Linked DNA regions of Homo sapiens: region 1 is linked to region 2. The links are contacts of gene promoters, found by promoter capture Hi-C in blood cells and fetal thymus (Javierre and others, 2016). All regions are on one chromosome and are shown on one strand. Each heading gives the region's core, a stretch centred on a gene start or on the middle of the fragment in contact. The rest is flanking DNA. Distances are from core to core; before and after follow the strand shown. Region 1 overlaps TESK2 (testis associated actin remodelling kinase 2). Region 2 holds the start of MMACHC (metabolism of cobalamin associated C).

What was found. The method cuts DNA at HindIII sites, captures the fragments that hold promoters and counts their contacts. A CHiCAGO score of 5 or more calls a contact.
Region 1: a contact is called between a fragment that was not itself captured here and the fragment with the promoter of MMACHC in region 2, in 2 of 17 cell types (total B cells and naive B cells). The highest score is 6.1, in total B cells.

Annotation. Positions count from the first base shown.
Region 1 is chr1:45,365,727-45,370,220 of GRCh38, reverse strand. All of the region lies in intron 4 of TESK2 (testis associated actin remodelling kinase 2), which reads left to right. Among named protein-coding and RNA genes, the nearest start is that of TOE1, 28 kb to the right of the region's middle. The HindIII fragment of the contact is 4,073 bases long and covers 1,026-4,494 here.
Region 2 is chr1:45,497,535-45,501,997 of GRCh38, reverse strand. It overlaps MMACHC (metabolism of cobalamin associated C), which reads right to left and starts at 1,698. Exons shown (of 4, transcript NM_015506.3): 1 at 1,585-1,698. The coding sequence starts at 1,665. It overlaps CCDC163 (CCDC163 homolog), which reads left to right and starts at 1,925. Exons shown (of 5, transcript NM_001102601.3): 1 at 1,925-2,466; 2 at 2,555-2,653. The coding sequence starts at 2,389. RefSeq lists enhancers at 1,704-1,903, 1,453-1,985. The HindIII fragment of the contact is 9,755 bases long and covers 448-4,463 here.

The DNA of each region.
Region 1 (4,494 bases), core at 1,813-4,312, 130 kb after region 2:
CTCAGCCTGATATCCTAGTCCTTTATGCCCTACTATAATACTACTTTTCTCCTAGTTCTCCTCTTCTTTAACAAGTACTCTATAATTCAGGCAAACTGGATTTCTTATTGTTTACTGAACATGGTCTGTGTTTTCCTGCCTCTTTATCCATATGGTTTCTTCAACCTAGAATATGCTCTTTCCCTCTGTCCTATAGAAATCATCTTCCCTGGCTGGACGCGGTGGCTGACGCCTGTAATCCCAGCACTTTGGGAGGTCAAGGTGGGTGGATCATGAGGTCAGGAGTTCGAGACCAGCCTGGCCAACATGGTGAAACCCCCATCTCTACTAAAAATACAAAAATTAGCTGGGTGTGATGGTGCGCACCTTTAATCCCAGCTACTGGGGAGGTTGAGGCAGGAGAATTGCTTGAACCCAGGAGGTGGAGGTTGCAGTGAGCTGAGATTGTACCGCTGCACTCCAGCCTGGGTGATAGAGCAAGACTCCATCTCAAAAAAAAAAAAAGAAAAATTATCTTACCTTCAAGACCTGGCCTCAGAGTCCGCTTATTTCCCCATAAAACCTTTCCTGATTCTTTTTCTCGGCCGCATCCTCTCTGCCCGCCTCCACTGCCACCACTCATTTGATCATAATGTTTCCCTCCATTCATCTTCTCCTATATAGAATTTTTGTACCTTTGTTATTACACATTCTTTCTTTTCTTTCCTTTTATTTATTTATTTATTTAGAGATGGAGTTTCACTTTTGTTGCCCAGGCTGGAGTGCAGTGGTGCAATCTCGGCTAACTGCAACCTCCACCTTCTGGTTTCAAGTGATTCTCCTGCCTCAGCCTCCTGGGATTACAGGTGCCCACCACCATGCCCAGCTAATTTTGTTGTATTTTTAGTAGAGACGGGGTTTCACAATGTTGGCCAGGCTGGTCTTGAACTCTTGACCTCGTGATCCACCTGCCTTGGCCTCCCAAAGTGCTGAGATTACAGGCGTGAGCCACTGCACTCAGCCCCATTCTTTCATTTATTAAAGCTTTTTTTGCTTTAGCTTCCCTACATAAATGTACACTCCTAGGGTAGAAGAAACCCAGGCTTTTAGGTCACAAGGCTTGGATACAAATCCAAGCTGTACTATTTACTAGTTGAATAATCATAGGCAAGTTATTTAAGTTCTCTGGGCCAGCCTGGTGGCTCATACCCATAATCCCAGCACTTTGGGAGGCCGAGGCAGGTGGATCACTTAAGGTCAGGAGTTCAAGACCAGCCTGACCAACATGGTGAAACCCCATCTCCACTAAAAACACACACACAAAAATTAGCCAGGCATGGTGGCGCACACCTGTAATTCCAGCTTCTTGGGAGGCTGAGGCAGGAGAATTGCTTGAACCCAGGAGGTGGAGGTTGCAGTGAGCCAAGATGGCGCCATTGCACTCCAGCCTGGGCAACAAGAACAAAACTCCATCTCAAAAAACAAACAAACAAAAACCAGCCAGGTGCAGTGGCTCACACCTGGGCAACAAGAGCAAAACTCCGTCTCAAAAAACAAACAACCAACCAGCCGGGTGCGGTGGCTCATGCCTGTAATCTCAGCACTTTGGGAGGCCGAGGCAGGTGGATCACCTGAGGTCAGGAGTTCGAGACCAGCCTGACCAATAAGGTGAAACCTCGTCTCTACTAAAAAATACAAAAATTAGCCGGGCGTGGTGGCAGGCGCCTGTAGTCCCAGGTACTCGGGAGGCTGAGACAGGAGAATTGCTTGAACCCAGAGGCGGAGGTTGCAGTGAGCTGAGATTGCGCCACTGCAGCCCAGCCTGGGCAATGGAGCGGGACTCCGTCTGAAAAACAAAACAAAAGAAAACCAAAAAAAACAAAAAACACACACAAAAAAACAAAAACAAAAAGATGACAAGAATGTTTCAAGATATTACAATGGTCAGGCCGGGTGTGGTGGCTCACACCTGTAATCCCAGCACTTCGGGAGGCCAAGATGGGTGGATCACCTGAAGTCAGGAGTTCAAGACCAGCCTGGCCAACATGGTGAAACCCATCTCTATTAAATATACAAAAAATTAGCCGGGTGTGGTGGCAGGCGCCTGTAATCCCAGCTACTCGGGAGGCTGAGGCAGGAGAATCATTTGAACCCAGGAGGCGGAGGTTGCAGTGAGCCAAGATCGCGCCATTGCACTCCAGCCTGGGCAACAAGAGTGAAACTCCATCTCAAAAAAAAAAAAAAAAATTTCAATGGTCAAATGAGGTAACTATGAAAGTGCTTTGCCAGGCATGGTGGCTTACGCCTGTAATCCCAGCACTTTGAGAGGCTGAGGTGGGTAGATCACCTGAGGTCAGGAGTTCGAGACCAGCCTGGCCAACATGGTGAAACCCCGTCTCTACTAAAAATACAAAAAATTAGCTGGGCGTGGTGGGAGGCACCTGTAATCCCAGCTACTCGGGAGGCTGAGGCAGGAGAATTGCTTGAACCTGGGAGGCAGAGGTTGCAGTGAGCCAAGATCACTCCATTGCACTGCAGCCTGGGCAACAAGAGAGAAACTCCATCTCAAAAAAAAAAAAAAAAAATGCTTTGTGACCAGATGCAGTGGCTCACGCCTGTAATCCCTACACTTTGGGAGGCCGAGGCAGGTGGATCACCTGAGGTCAGGATTTGGATAGCAACCTGACAAACATGGTGAAACCCTATCTCTACTAAAAATACAACAATTAGCCAGGCATGGTGGCACATGCCTGTAATCCCAGCTACTTGGGAGACTGAGGCAAGAGAATTGCTTGAACCCGGAGTCAACAGAGACTCCATCTCAAAAAAAAAAAAAAAGGAGAACGAGGAACCAAATGATGCCCAGTTTCTAGGTGGGTGGCGATGCCGTTTACTGAGATGTAGAAAACTTGGAGGGTGCAGCTGGAATACTTCCTTCTTTCAGCTGTGTATGCATTACTTGGGAATTGGTTTTTTTGAATATAACACTAATCAACATGGTCTCCTCAATGTAGAAGATCAGACTCAGTCTTTTGCCTGAGCCTTTCTTTGTCTGAGTAGGCATTATTAAACATTTTATTTTATTTTATTTTATTTTATTTATTTTTTGAGACTAGGTCTGGCTCTAATGCCCAGGCTGGGGTGCAGTGTTGCAATGTTGGCTCACTGCAGCCTCTGCCTCCTCAGCTCAAGCCATCCTCCCACCTCAGCCTCCTGAGTAGCTGAGACTACAGGCATGCACCACTATGCCCAGCTAATTTTTGTATTTTTTGCAGAGACAAGGTTTTGCCATGTTACCCAGGCTGGTCTCGAACTCGTGAGCTCAAGCAATCTGCCCACCTTGGCCTCCAAAAGTGCTGGGATTACAGGCATGAGCCTCTGCGCCCAGCCAGCATTATTAAATATTTGTTTTTGCATGATATTTATTGGAAAGTTCCTCTAAAAGCACATTTCTCTTTTATATCTTAAATTACATTTTAATGATTAAATTGAGGGGTGGGGCTTCCAATAAAAGAGGGAACTTAAAACCCACCTCCATTTATTTAAATGCACTTAATTATGTATTTGTTTGTTCAACAATTTCACTGAGTTTTACAAAGGGGCTTACAAAATTGAGCAGGACCTAGTTCCTGCCATAAATGTTATAGTACAGTGTGATGAACAATAGTAGAAACATGTGCAGGATGCTAAAGTGGCACCAAGAATGGGCTCGAACTCCTGGGCTCAAGCAATACTCCTGCCTCAGCCTCCCAAAGTACTGGGATTACAGGTGTGAGCTACTGTGCCCAGCCTAGCACTAAGAATGGGATGGAGTATCAAGGAATGCTTTCCATGAGTTCAGAAGGATGAATAAGTGGCTGGCCGTGGTGGCTCACACCTGTAATCCCAACACTTTGGGAGGCTTAAGCGGTCAGATCACTTGAGGTCAGGAGTTTGAGACCAGCTGGCCAACATGTTGAAACTCCGTCTCTGCTAAAAATACCAAAAATTAGCCAGGTCTGGTGGTCCATGCCTGTAATCCCAGTTACTCAGGAGGCTGATGCAGGAGAATTGCTTAAACCCTGGAGGTGGAGGTTGCAGTGAGCTGGGATCACGCCACTGCACTCCAGCCTGGGTGACAAATAAATAAATAAGGGCCAGTGTGGTGGTTCATGCTTGTAATCCCAGCACTTTGGGAGGTCGAGGCAGGCGGATCACCTGAGGTCAGGAGTTTGAGACCAGCCTGGCCAACATGGTGAAACCCCGTCTCTACTAAAAATACAAAATTAGGCTGGGTGCAGTGGCTCATGCCTGTAATCCCAGCACTTTGGGAGGCCAAGGTAGGTGGATCACAAGGTCAGGAGTTCAAAACCAGCCTGACCAACATGGTGAAACCCCATCTCTACTAAAAATACAAAAATTAGCCAGGTGTGGTGGCACACGCCTGTAATCCCAGCTACTCAGGAGGCTGAGGCAGAATTGCTTGAACCCGGGAGGCAGAGGTTGCAGTGAGCTGAGATTACGCCACTGCACTGC
Region 2 (4,463 bases), core at 449-2,948:
CTGGAGGTAAAATTACAGCAAGGAGGTTATTACAGTAATCCAAGTGAGAAATGGTGGCCTGGACCACAGCATAGATGGGTGGAATACAAGGGAATGGATTTGGGAGATTCAGTAGACAGTCTTATAGGTCTTGGTGGCTGATTGGATGTGGGGGTAGGGAGGTGAGAGGTAGGAGCCTAGGGTGACTGGCAGGGCTGCAGTTGGCTTTGTTCAGTACAAAAGCTCCTAATACCCAGGTCTACTCAACTTGCCAGATAGGCATTCTCACTCTCCCACACACCTGCCATCCACTGAAACGGTGTCTCAAAGAGTTAAAGGTCGATCTGCAACAAATAGCTTTTGTTTTCTCAAAAACCCAGTGTCATAATATTAGCTTCCAGCACATCAGGCATCAAGCCCTTTTACTTGGTAACACCACACCACTATCTCCACACCTTTACTCAAGCTTTTTCTGATATTTGGGATGTACATAACCCTCCTTCCTTCCAATCTATCTTTTCATATATAGCTCAATTCCATTTTTTCTGGCAAGACCAGTCTCAAGCTAGACCCAACCTACTTCTCCCTCTATATCCTCTCCCAGGACTGCTGTGAGCCACTCAGCAGAAGGAATGGGAAGTGGGTAGTCTCTTAAGCATCAGGCAAAGGGCTCAAGCTGAGCTGATTTAGCTTTGTAACTTAACTGCTCAGTGCACAGGGCACTGATGTGGGGAAATGTAACCGTGTAAATGGGGGTCGGGGTGCGGTGCTGAGACTGCTGTGCCAGGCAAGTGTACAAAGTTTCATTACCCAGCCCAGCACTGATGACTGGAAATATCATGAATTATCCTTCTGTTGGTAGAGGGAACAAACCAGCCAATTGTTTGCCTGTTCATCACCAGGAATGCCCTTCCTTCCTCAGCTGACCTAAATGATAGCTATGCAAACCTTCTAGGCTTTGCCCTCTCCTAAATCCTTTAGGAAGTTCCAAGGTGACTTTGCCTCACAGGTCCCTTTCTTCTTGTAAATTATATAGGTGACAATCTGAGCCACACACGCTACAGGTCATATGGTGTCTCCCGTTAACGAATCCGGCATTATATGGTGGCAAAAGGTTAAACATGCGACAACTTTTTTTTTTTTTTTTTTTTTTGACACGGAGTTTCGCTCTTTGTTGCTCAGGCTGGACTGCAATGGCGCAATCTCGGCTCACTGCAACCTCCGTCTCATGGGTTCAAGCAATTGTCCTGCCTCAGCCTCCCGAGTAGCTGGGATTACAGGCATGCACCACCACGCCCGGCTAATTTTATATTTTTAGTAGAGATGGGGTTTCACCATGTTGGCCAGGCTGGTCTCGAACTCCTCACCTCAGGTGATCCGCCCGCCTCGGCCTCCCAAAGTGCTGGGATTACAGGCGTGAGCCACCATGCCCGGCCTCGACCACTACCTTTTTAACCCAAGCCCCCACTGAAACTCTGTCCCTGTTGTCACATGGACACTGGGCTGCAGGAACCCAGGAGGATCAGAGGCTCCCGAGGCCTCACGCCAGTTGCAACGAAGCCAATCATATATTTCGCCCTAGAACAGCAGGAGGGATAAACTAACCTGGAAGGGGTAAACCTCGAAGCCAAAAGGACATAGCGTGTCCTCGATCTTCTGCTTCAGCTCTGCGACTTTCGGCTCCATAGCGCACGTTACACGCTGAGCTTGCTGGGGAATGAAGTCTCAAGGACAATTGGGCCGTTACGTTTTGAGTCAGCTTCGACTCCATTTCCCAGGTAGGAAATGGGTCCAGTAGCGGGACCATATTGCCTATGCGCGATGCATCTTGGGATGCGTAGTTCGTTTCCTCCTTGGAGACAGCCACACGAAATCAGGAAGACTCAGTTTCCCGGCAAGCTACACGGTGGGGGTGTGCATGTACGTGTCTCTTCTAGAGAAAGGTAGTTCCACCGCCTCCATCGCCGGTTGTGTTCGCAAGAGGCGACCTCAGTTTCCCAGGTGGCGCTGCGGCAGCCAGTCCAAAGTCGGACTTTCAAAACCAACCCGAAGTTTTGAACCCGGCGGCGGCAGTTGTCACTGGCACAGGTTTGGCGTGGTGGCGCCAGTGTACTACTTCTGGGGAGGTCTCAACCAGGTTCTGGCACCTTCAATCCCCACCTGATATCTGCGTATCATCACGGTATCCCGCTTTTCCCCCAGTTCCCCAAGAGCGTCCTTCCTTTCCCTAGTCACAGGATCGCAGTTTTGGTCTGATAGTGCATCCACCTACCCCAGTGTTGCATCCCCACTTCCCTCTTTCCATCTAACGTGGTGGCCTTTCCTGGGGATACCTTGGGTATCCCCCGCTAGGAGAGCAAGCACAAGACACCAGGGAGCCAGACCCCTGCCGCTCCCCTGCCACAGGATATGAATACGAGCCTCAGCTGGTTTGAGCAGCTGGATGTGCTTCTCAACGCTACTGATGGAAATGTGGTCCGGAATAAGGTGAGGGGTTGGTGGAGGTCCCCAGTTTGCGTGGGGAGGCTAAGGGACTCTCAGAGTTCATTGGCCTGTGCATCTGTTTCTTTTGTAGCAGTGGCTGTATCCTCTTGGGGTCTCCACAGAGCTCATTGGCCTGTGCATCTGTTTCTTCTGTAGCAGTGGCTGTATCTTCTTGGGGTCTCCACCGCAGGTAAGTAATGTCTCTTTCTACTTCCAAGCCCTTTCTCTTTCTGTGCCTTCCTCCAGTGCCCGTATCATCCATTATTCCTTCCAAATTCCAACTCTGTCCTTTCCTGAACTCTGTTTCCCCACACAGACCCTGCACTTAACCCTTCCTTATTTCCTCAGCCGGGGACCTGGCTGGGACCTGGATTTCCTCTCATCACTTGCCTCTGCAGTCAGGAGTCCAAGCTCAACAGCCTTGGGCTTTAGAGACTCCCATAGTTCCACAAAGGCTGAGCTGCCCTGAGTCCTAGAGCCCATCCTCTCTCTGGGGTGAGGTTGCTATTCTCTGATCCTAATTTCAATGTCAGGCTCAGGTGAGGCTTGGAATCCTTGGTGTGTATATGTGATGTTTGTGTAAGATGAGGATACTAGGGGTCGGGAAAAGCTGTTATACAGTAGTTCATGTGCTTTTTTCTGCCTGGGGAGGTGACAGGCACTAAGGCAGGCAGTGCAGGGCCTGCTAGAAGAGCGAGAGCAGCAGAAGTACCAGATCAGTGTCCTGGAAGGTATCTGGCCAGTTATTTTCTTCATATACACAGCTTCATATGTATGCACACAATTTTGCCACACACCTGTTGTGTGTGCACATGTGTCTTGTTTTGCAAGTAGAGTATCTAGGGTCTTGTGAAACTCTTAGAGAGGATGATCCCTAACTTGTCCCACTACAGCATCACTAAGGTTGCTGCAGGGGGCCCCAAAGGGGAGTGCTTTTCTCCTGGAGCAATGCCTGGAGGAGCTGAGAAAGGAACTGCAGGGCCTTCAGAGCCAGGTGTGGGAGCAAACCCAAGCCCAAGCCCAAGCCCAGATGCAAACAGGACCAGGAGAATGCAGTACTACCAATGGCCTTCCTCAGGAGCTGCAGACTGAGTAAGGGATAGTCAAGACCTTGCCTTCTTTTTTTTTTTTTTTTTTTTTGGGTTTGTTTTTCTTTTATTGATCATTCTTGGGTGTTTCTCACAGAGGGGGATTTGGCAGGGTCATAGGACAATAGTGGAGGGAAGGTCAGCAGATAAACAAGTGAACAAAGGTCTCTGGTTTTCCTAGGCAGAGGACCCTGCGGCCTTCGGCAGTGTTTGTGTCCCTGGGTACTTGAGATTAGGGAGTGGTGATGACTCTTAATGAGCATACTGCCTTCAAGCATCTGTTTAACAAAGCACATCTTGCACCGCCCTTAATCCATTTAACTCTGAGTGGACACAGCACATGTTTCAGAGAGCACAGGGTTGGGGGTAAGGTCACAGATCAACAGGATCCCAAGGCAGAAGAATTTTTCTTAGTACAGAACAAAATGAAAAGTCTCCCATGTCTACTTCTTTCTACACAGACACGGCAACCATCCGATTTCTCAATCTTTTCCCCACCTTTCCCCCCTTTCTATTCCACAAAGCCGCCATTGTCATCCTGGCCCGTTCTCAATGAGCTGTTGGGCACACCTCCCAGACGGGGTGGTGGCCGGGCAGAGGGGCTCCTCACTTCCCAGTAGGGGTGGCCGGGCAGAGGCACCCCTCACCTCCCGGATGGGGTGGCTGGCCGGGCGGGGGGCTGACACCCCCACCTCCCTCCCAGACGGGGCGGCTGGCCTGGCGGGGGGCTGACCCCCTCCACCTCCCTCCCGGACGGGGTGGCTGCCGGGCGGAGACGCTCCTCACTTCCCAGACGGGGTGGCGGCCGGGCAGAGGCTGCAGTCTCGGCACTTTGGGAGGCCAAGGCAGGCGGCTGGGAGGTGGAGGTTGTAGCGAGCCGAGATCACGCCACTGCACTCCAGCCTGGGCGCC